Regions from separate parts of the Homo sapiens genome. Here region 2 is linked to region 1. The links are contacts of gene promoters, found by promoter capture Hi-C in human tissues and cell types (Jung and others, 2019). All regions are on one chromosome and are shown on one strand. The core of a region is centred on a gene start or on the middle of the fragment in contact, and the rest is flanking DNA. Distances in the headings are between cores, read along the strand shown.

The links. Contacts are between HindIII fragments. The study calls those that stand out against the background at their distance.
Region 2: a fragment that was not itself captured here is called in contact with the fragment with the promoter of HNRNPU in region 1 in 1 of the 25 tissues and cell types used here (heart left ventricle).

What each region holds. Positions count from the first base shown.
Region 1 is chr1:244,863,293-244,867,870 of GRCh38, forward strand. It overlaps HNRNPU (heterogeneous nuclear ribonucleoprotein U), which reads right to left and starts at 1,251. Exons shown (of 14, transcript NM_031844.3): 1 at 325-1,251. The coding sequence starts at 1,015. LOC124904588 (UPF0764 protein C16orf89-like) reads right to left here. Exons shown (of 4, transcript XM_047439568.1): 3 at 1,371-1,439; 4 at 1,190-1,294. The coding sequence ends at 1,190. RefSeq lists silencers at 1-320, 1,301-1,400 and enhancers at 625-1,456, 1,457-2,287, 1,621-1,680. The HindIII fragment of the contact is 13,439 bases long and covers 1-4,578 here.
Region 2 is chr1:245,042,435-245,046,841 of GRCh38, forward strand. The region is part of intron 3 of DRC8 (dynein regulatory complex subunit 8); the gene reads left to right. It also overlaps the pseudogene RNU6-999P. Among named protein-coding and RNA genes, the nearest start is that of EFCAB2-AS1, 74 kb to the left of the region's middle. RefSeq lists an enhancer at 4,096-4,407. The HindIII fragment of the contact is 6,532 bases long and covers 1-4,407 here.

The DNA.
Region 1 (4,578 bases), core at 1-2,500:
ACCGGGCTCCCTCCCGCCGCCCGCCCGCGGCTCCTCCCCCTACAGCGGCAGCTGCAGCTCCCCCCGGCTCTCGAGCCACATAATGGAGGCGCTGCCACCGCCGACACACACACACACACACACACACACGCGCGCGCGCACACACACGCCCCGAGCCCGAGGCCTCTCGGCTAATCTGGGATTCCCCGCGCCCCCTCCCCCACCCTCACCGCGGCGCCCTCCCGCCCGGGGCTCCCTCCCCCTGCGGGGCTCCGGCAGGCCTGGGGCACGGTCCCCACCCCGCGCGGGCCTCCCGCCGCGCGCAACGTACAACGCAGCACTCACCCGCCGCCGGAGCCCCGGGGCGACCGCCGCCTCCGCCGCCTTCCGCCTTCTTCTTACCTCCCGCCTGCTGCTGGCCCTGCCTCGCCCCGGGCGGCGCCACCGTCACCGCGAACAGCGAGGTGGGGCCGCTGCTCTTCCCCGCGGCCTCCTTGGCGGCCCCGCGCTGCTGTTGGGGCTGTTGCTGCTGCGTCGCCGGCGGTTGAGGCTGCTGCTCCCCGTGCCCGTTCTCGTCGCCCGCGCCTTCCTCTTCGTCCCCGAGCTCATCTTCCCCTTCCTGGAAACCCTGATCGTCGCCGTTCTCGTCTTCCGAGGCGGCCTCCTCCTCCTCCATCGGGCCCGAGTCGGCCGCCCCCGCGGCCCCGTTCTCCTCTCCTAGCTCCATCTGGTCGCCGTCCAGAGCGGAGATTCCTTCCTCCTCCTCTTCCTCTTCCTCCTCCTCTTCATCGCCGCCGGCCGCGGCCTCCTGCTCGAGGCCTGCTCCCGAGCGCCCAGCGGAATCCCCGCCCAGGTCTAGGCTGCCGTTCCCGGGCTCCATGGCGGGGCGGCCCCCGGCCTCCTCGTCGTCCAGCGCAGCCTGGAGTCGCTCCATGAGCTCGGCCTTGAGACCCTTGTCAGAAAGGCGTCGCTTCTTGAGCTCCTCTTTCAGCTCCGACACCTTCAGCTTTTTTACATTAACAGGCGAGGAACTCATGGTGAGGGCCCCGATTCACCGCTAGGCGCTGCCTCAAACTCGGCTCCGCTCACTCGGCCACTGGTGGCGGCTGCTGCGGCTGCTCCTCGGCCCGGGCGGCGGCTGCGGCTGCGGCTGGAGATGGGTTCGTGCTGCAGAGCGGATCCGCCTGGTGTCGAACGGCGCCAATTCCTTTCACCGAGTTCGCGAGGGAGACGCGGAGACTCGCCTGGCGCGAGCGAGCACGCAACGTCCTCTCGCAGGAGCGGCGCCGCGCACGTAATATAGGCGCCCCGCCCCCTGCGCTGACGGGAGCACTGCGCAGGAGGAAAGCCGGAGCGCGCCCGCGCTCGGCCCCGCCCATTACCGTACTTACCTCCCCGCCCCCACGCCGAACCCGGGCCGAGAGCGCGGTGGAGGCCGCGCAGTGCGCTTCCAATTGGGACTGAGCAAATGGAGGAAAAGGAAACCGCCTTTCAGTTCAACCGACTCACTGCATGATATATTGGCCTTTCTGGGTCTTTGGTGGCTATACTCGTTTGGCTTTTCTCCTTCCCAGCTTGGAGGCTGCTTTATCCAAATGCTTTCTTCAGTCCTCAACTTGGCGTTTCAACCCGAATCCGCCTTTTCTTCCATCTTAGATCTGCCTTCTTATGTGTTTCTCCAGCTCTTCGTTTAAAACTCCTTCAAATCGTATTTCAGTTTTGACTGGTATAGCATACATTGGCAACTGTTACACGCAGCGGCTCTTTTCCTCATAATACCGTATTTGGTTTAATTTGTGTAAGTCCTGCCTTGCGAATTGGATTTTAAGTTCGAGAAGGGCAAGGGCAGAACCGTTCTTTTGTCTGTTCCACACCCCGGGTGCGGGGCCTGGGAAGTAGAGGCTTTGCTTACTACTCCATACTGCAAACCTTAGTGTACCTGCCTTTGCAGGGCAGCTATTCTCATGCTCTTAATAACCCTGAATAAACCTCAGAATTGCATTTCCAAGTTTTCTGTAGCTACCACAAAGACGGACCTCCAGTAACACTTGTTCTGTCCACTTTAGGACCTGGTCATCAGCTACGAAGTCCCAGTAGCTAACCGTGAGGGTGAGACCCAACTAGGTCTTTGATTATAGGCCCACTTGATTCTCTTCCTATTCCTGTAGAAATACTCTTGACCAAATTATTCTGAAACTTAAAGTTTACGAAAAATCAAGGGCTGTGATTTTGTAAAAAGAAAAATGGACTATCGCTCTTGAAATCCGTTATTTTATATGTTAGAAGTTTACTTTTTCTCTTTAAAGAAAAGATGTGATGTCTCGAAGTTTTAGATAGGGAAGTCAGAATTTAGATTCGTGATAGAAGTTAACATTTTAAACCCTAGATAATCTGCAGTGTCCAGCCAGTGTTCCATCTGACTAAGGAGATGGTTTATACCCACTGTTTGGTGCTCTAGGTGGCACAATAATATTGCCCCATTATTAATTTGAAATTTGGAAGTAAACACATTGAAATTTCTCCCATAGGCTAATATGATTTAACTAATTGATACATTTTATTTTTGAAGTTTATTTTCGGTAGCTTTTATGAAGCATTCTACCATACCTTGCAGTCATGTATACGTGAAATATTAACACTTGTGAAATGATTTGACTTGAAATTAATGGACTATGTACAGTACTACTGATAATCCCCAGTTCAAGTTAAGTGGTGAGGATAGCCCCCAAAATAGAAACTTCCAAACAGTGCCAGAAACTCATTTTAGCCTTTGGTTATAATTTTGAAGGTTATGAATAAGCCACAAACTGGAATTTGAAATTTTGTCTTCGTTCAGAAATGGGAAGAGAGCTACAGGGGGTTTACATGTTCACAAACTAGATAACTAATCCCTTAATGAATCAGAGTTAAATACAATTATGATGGTTCCTTAAATTTATGTGTCCTAGATATTATTTACACCTTTAAATATTAGTTATATGAAAACAAATTTCATTTACTGGAAAACACTAAACTATGAAAACAAAGATTGTATATCTACATATAGTAGATCTGTAACAGTCACTCTTGGAACATTAAGTCAGTTGCAAAAATAAACATGAAATACAACTTTTGATGCTCACAAGAAAGTTCTATGGCTTTATCTCCAAAAGTTTTGGAGAACTTTAGAGCTGGATGGGGCCTGGAGATCGATCTGCAGTCCTGTTCATTTTACTGCCCAGGAAGCTGGGACCCTCACCCCCCACACCAATGGGCTTTCTATTACATTGTGCTGTCTTAGACAACATTTGAAAGAAAAACAATTTCTGCTCAAAGAACCATCATCATACTATCCTTTTCACAAACAGAGGAAATATGCCATTCCATAGTCTTATGTTACCACTTCAAAGTACAAATGGTGACATCTTATTGATCATTTTTGCTTCTTATATTTTTAATGCTATCATGATAGTCCTGCTCTACAGAGACCTGTTAAAGTGCAGGTCACTTCCTGTAAATCTCTGAAGGACCTCTAAGACAATTTAAATTCCCCCTGTGTCAAATCCTAGAGGCTACCAAGAATACCGCGTGCCGGAGGAGACAAGTTAATTCTCAATAACAAAAAATGATTCAAGAATGACCTATGAATAATTGATCTGTGAGAGGTAACTACAAAGTTTTGGTGCTCTGCATGTCTAGCTTACATTTTTGAGGTTTAAGCAAAGGAAATGCTATACTTTGTCACACAATTTATTCAGCAAATATTTTTTCAATACTTTCTCAAAAACATTTTATAGTCATAACGATGAGGCAGTTCCAGAGATCTACAGTTAACAAAGTATCCTGCACTTAAAAATTTGCTGGCCAGGCCCAGCGGCTCATGTCTGTAATCCCAGCACTTCGAGAGGCCGAGATGGGAAGATGGCTTGAGGCCAGGAGTTCGAAACCAGCCTGAGGAACACAGTGAGACTCCATCTCCACAAAAAATTAAAATTAGGTGGCTGTGGTGGTACGCCTGTAGTCCGAGCTACTCAAGGGGCTGAGGTAGCAGGATCACTTGACCCCCGGCAGTCAAGGCTGCAGTGAGCCGTGATTGTACCACTGCACTCTAACCTGGACCACAGAGGGAGACCCTGTCTCAAAAAAAAAAAAAAAGAAAAAAGAAAGAAAAAGAAAAAAACCCGTTAAGATCTTACGTTAAATATTCTCATTCCCCCCCGCCCCCCAAAAAAAACAAAACAAAACAAAAAACAAGATCGGGAGTGGTGGCTCACACCTGTAATCCCAGCACTTTGGGAGGCTGAGGTGGGCAGATCACCTGAGGTCAGGAGTTCGAGACCAGCCTGGCCAACATGTTGAAACCCCATCTCTACTAAAAACACAAAAAATAGCCAGGCGTGGTGGTGGCCGCCTGTAATCCCAGCTACTCAGGAGCCTGAGGCAGGAGAATCACTTGAACCTGGGAGGCGGAGGTTGCAGTGAGCTGAGACTGAGCCACTGAACTCCAGCCTGGGGGACAAAGCAAAACTTCGTCTCAAAAAAAAAAAAAAAAAAAAAAGGCCGGGCGCGGTGGCTCACGCCTATAATCCCAGCACTGTGGGAGGCCGAGGCGGGCGGATC
Region 2 (4,407 bases), core at 1,801-4,300, 180 kb after region 1:
AACAGAATAGCTCTGCTGAAGAAAGAGATTTCGTCATTATTTTACCTTCATTTCATGGCTTTTCCAAAATAAGGTACATGTGTGAAAAATGCCCTCCGTAAGGGCGAGGTCTTTATTTTGTTCTCTGCTGTTCTGTAAACGATACCAGCACATCATAGGGTTCAAATATTTGTTAAATGAATGAAAACATTTTCAGATCCTGCTTTGTCCTTAGACATTTTTGGATTGCTTTAAATGTTCTCTTATCCTTAGCATAATATTAGCTATTTAATAGAGCAGGTAAAATGTTTTGCCTATTTTTTTTTGTCTCTTATAATTGTGTGAAATATTCTGAATCTGGTCTTCACTTTGGTGTTTTTGACCTTAGGCTGCCCTTAAACTGAAGTCACAGCCTAGCTCAATGGCACTGGCTCCCCCTTGTGTCAGGAACTTGATACTACACCCACTAAATGCCAGCCTGCCAAGAACCAAGCTTCCCCGGGTCAAACATTTTAAGTGGTCCAAATGCTATACATAATTAAATGATGACACCACGATTGGGCCACCTTATTGGGGCTCATTTGCTCCAAATAGTCTTACTCCTATGCCCACTACTATATATATAGCACAGGTACAGAAAAACATTTTTAATACTTGTAACCATAAAGGCTTTTGGAGTTAGTTTGTACTTCTTATCAATATAAGACATCTACGTTGACAAAAGAAATCGAATGTTGACTGAGTGCGGTGGCTCACGCCTGCAATACCAGCACTTTGGGAGACCTAGGCGGGCGGATCACTTGAAGTCAGGAGTTTGAGATCAGCCTGGCCAGCATGGTGAAACTCTGTCTCTACTAAAAACACAAAAAATTAGCTGGGCATGGTGGTGGGCACCTGTAATCCCAGCTACTTGGGAGGCTGAGGCAGGAGAATTGCTTGAACCTGGGAAGCGGAGGTTGCAGTGAGCCGAGATTATGCCACTGCACTCCAGCCTGGGCGACAGAGCGAGACTCTGTCTCAAAGGAAAAAAAAAAAGAAAGAAAGAAAAAGAAATCAAATGTCTCAGCATATTTTAAATACTTTATATGGAACAGTTGATTTTCACTTTCTTTCAAAAGCCTACCAAAATTGAGGAGTTAGCGTTTTTTTAATCCCATGAAATCGATTTAAAAGGAAGAAAATTATTTTTCAAAGGGACAACATTTTATTTTCAAGAGTAGTATTTGATTTCTGTTTTGTGTACATGGTAGAATACTGAGTGAGTTGCTCCTGGCCACTCTCGCTGTTGAGGAGATGAACCCGTGCAGGGACGGCCCCAGGAAGGCCTCTTTAGCTGTCTGAATGAAGTGATTTTGACTCTCAGCGTCAGTGGTGTGCTGGAGCCAGACCGTGCCGACTTATCCCAGCTCACAAGAGCTAATGGCTAAATTTCAGGAGTTCTGCAAACTATTGTTAAAGCTAGTTTATATTAGAAATAAATTATATAGACAATTCAGTTATATTAAAAAACAAGGGTGCTTTCTTCAGCAGCACTTATCTAAGATCAGAACAACATCGAGAAGATGAGCGTGGCACCTACACAGGCTGGCACACACATTTGTGAAGCGTTCCATATTTTTTCAGGTTATTCTGTATTAAATGCAAAATAAATGCTTTTATTAACAATGACAAAAAGAAAGGTAATTGTAATAAATACAATTTACCACTTCGTAATTACTTTATTATATTTTACTCATACTTTGAGGTTATTTGTGTCTAGTGTATGTGTGGTGGATGTACCATATAATGGTATGCTATTGTCATTTCTTCCAGACTCCACCTTTAGTGATTTCATGTTTGTAATTGGCAGCTTGAAATCGATCTTGGAACAATGGAAATAAAACCACAATGGAAATAAAAAAGGATCCAAATCAGGACTTTTTGCCTATGAGGAGCCAGTGATAACCAGCCCATTACTATATGCAAAACGAGTTTATATGTTTTTTCTCTACTCCAAAAACTTAACAAAAGAAGGAATTATTAAACTTTAAAAAACGATTTTAATTTTATTTTACTACATTGGTTTCAGTTTTTTATTTTATTTTATCATTTATTTATTTATTTTTGAGACGGAGTCTCACTCTGTCGCCCAGGCTGGATTTATTTATTTATTTATTTATTTATTTATTTATTTACTTTTTTTGAGACGGAGTCTCGTTCTGTTGCCCAGGCTGGAGTGCAGTGGCACCATCTCGGCTCTACCTCCCGGGTTCAAGGGATTCTCCTGCCTCAGCCTCCTTAGTAGGTGGGATTACAGGCGCCTGCCACCACGCCTGGCTATTTGTGTGTGTGTGTTTGTGTATTTTTAGTAGAGATGGCATTTCACCATGTTGGTCAGGCTGGTCTTGAACTCCTGACCTCAAGTGATCCACCTACCTCGGTACCCCCTCCCCCGACCCAGCCCCAACAAAGTGCTGGGATTACAGGTGTGAGCCACCATGGCTGGCTTGGTTTCAGTTTTTTAAATAGTTTTTTGAAAAGATAACTTCAATAATTTAAATTCTTTAATAATTTTAATAATGTTAAAAATGGTTTTAAAAGGTTGCTTTAATTTAATTGAATTTATTTATGTTGAGACAGAGTCTTGTTCTGTCACCCAGGCTGCCGTGTGATGGCAGCATCACAGAGCTCACTGCAGCTTCAACCTCACCTGCTCAAGTCATCCTCCCATCTCAGCCTCCAGGGTAGCTGGAACTACAGCCACACACCACCATGCCTGGCTAATTTTACATTTTTTTGTAGAAACAGGTTCTTACTGTATTGCTCAGGGTGGTCTTGAACTCCTGGACACAGGTGGTCCTCCCGCCTCAGCCTTCCACAGTGCTGGGATCACAGGTGTGAGCCACCTTGCCTTGTCACTGGTCGAGGGTTGTGACTGCAAGTTGTCCAGGTTCTTGGCATTTTGAACAAAGAATTGGACAAAATGCCCAGCAAAGCAAAGCAAAGTATGAAGCAACAAAAGAACAAAAGCAGGGATTCATTGAAAATGAAAGTACACTCCACAGTGTGGGAGTGGGCCAGAGCAGCAGCTCCAGGGTCCAGATGCAGAATCTTCTTGGGTCCAAATACCCGCTAGCAGTTTTCCATTGGCCACTTCACGTCCATCTCATGTAAATGAAGTGCTAGCCCACAGTCAGTCTGAATGGTTGCAGAAAGCAGCCAACCAGAGGCTGAAGTGAAGTTACAAAGGTCACACCCCTGTGCAAACAGGAGTTGGTTTTCGCAGCCAATCAGAGGCTAGGGTGAAGTTACAAAGTTATACCTCTGTGCAAACAGACTTGGCAGGCCATTAGTCTGACTGGTTGTGGACAGCAGCCATCGGTCTGACTGGTTGTGGACAGCAACCATTCAGAGGCCGGAGTGAACAAAGATGCAAACGAAGACTCAACCCGCAGTCAGTCTGGTTTGTTGCAGACAGCCAATTTCCCATCTGCCTACCAGAAAAGGTAGTGAGTTTGCAAAGGGAGTAGCCTCTGGTCCTTTTGTTACTTAGGCTGGAAAGTTAGGGTTTTCCTTTCAATTTAGTTCTAGGAAGTCAGTGTGAAATAGCCTTAGGATCCCTGCCTCCAGACCCTATTGCCCTGCCTCAGCCTGGCCTAAAAGCTTTACTTGAATCTTCAATCAATTCACTTAATTCAAAGTTTCATTTAGTAGAAATAGGTTAACCAACCTTAATATTATATATGATTTTATCAATTATGTTATATTTTTGTTTCATTTTCTAGTTCCTGTCTAATGTCTTGTTTTCTTATTTCTAAACTTCTTTCTTTTATTTTCATCATTAAGCTATGAATTTTTTTCCTATCTCCTGTAACTTTCTTTTCACTTATTTCAGTGTTTTTACATTTTTCTCTTCAGCTGTCTCCCTTTGCAGACAGACCTCGATCTCTTTCTCAGAATTAATGGCCTCATATTTTCCTGACCTGTGCTCCTTCTCGCTGTCTCTTTTATTCTTAGCTCACCTTTAGGATCCTCACTACTCCTGAGGCTGAACTGTTAGCAATACGGTTTCCTCCACTGTGGCCAGGATCCCAGCTCCATCCGGATACCATCTGGACATGTGCAGGGCTCACCTGGCCCCTTCTGCTGTTTTCCCATGTCTTTGGCACCAGAAATACGATGCGAGGATAGTGCATAGGATCATTCGGTCATTTTTGCCTCTAGCCCCGTATTTCAGAACATGGGAGGACAAGAGAAGCTCTGAGTCGTTTTTGCTTCTGCTGTAATTTGTTTTTATTCTCATCTCAAGGAATTTGGAAGTCCTTTTGAAATAAATGCATCTCATTTCATTATCATTTGAGGAAAGAGACATTTGAGAGGAAAGGGCGATTAATATTTAAACACCACCTCCCTTCCCCTACCTCATTTGCCCTTGTATTTTTTTCTTCT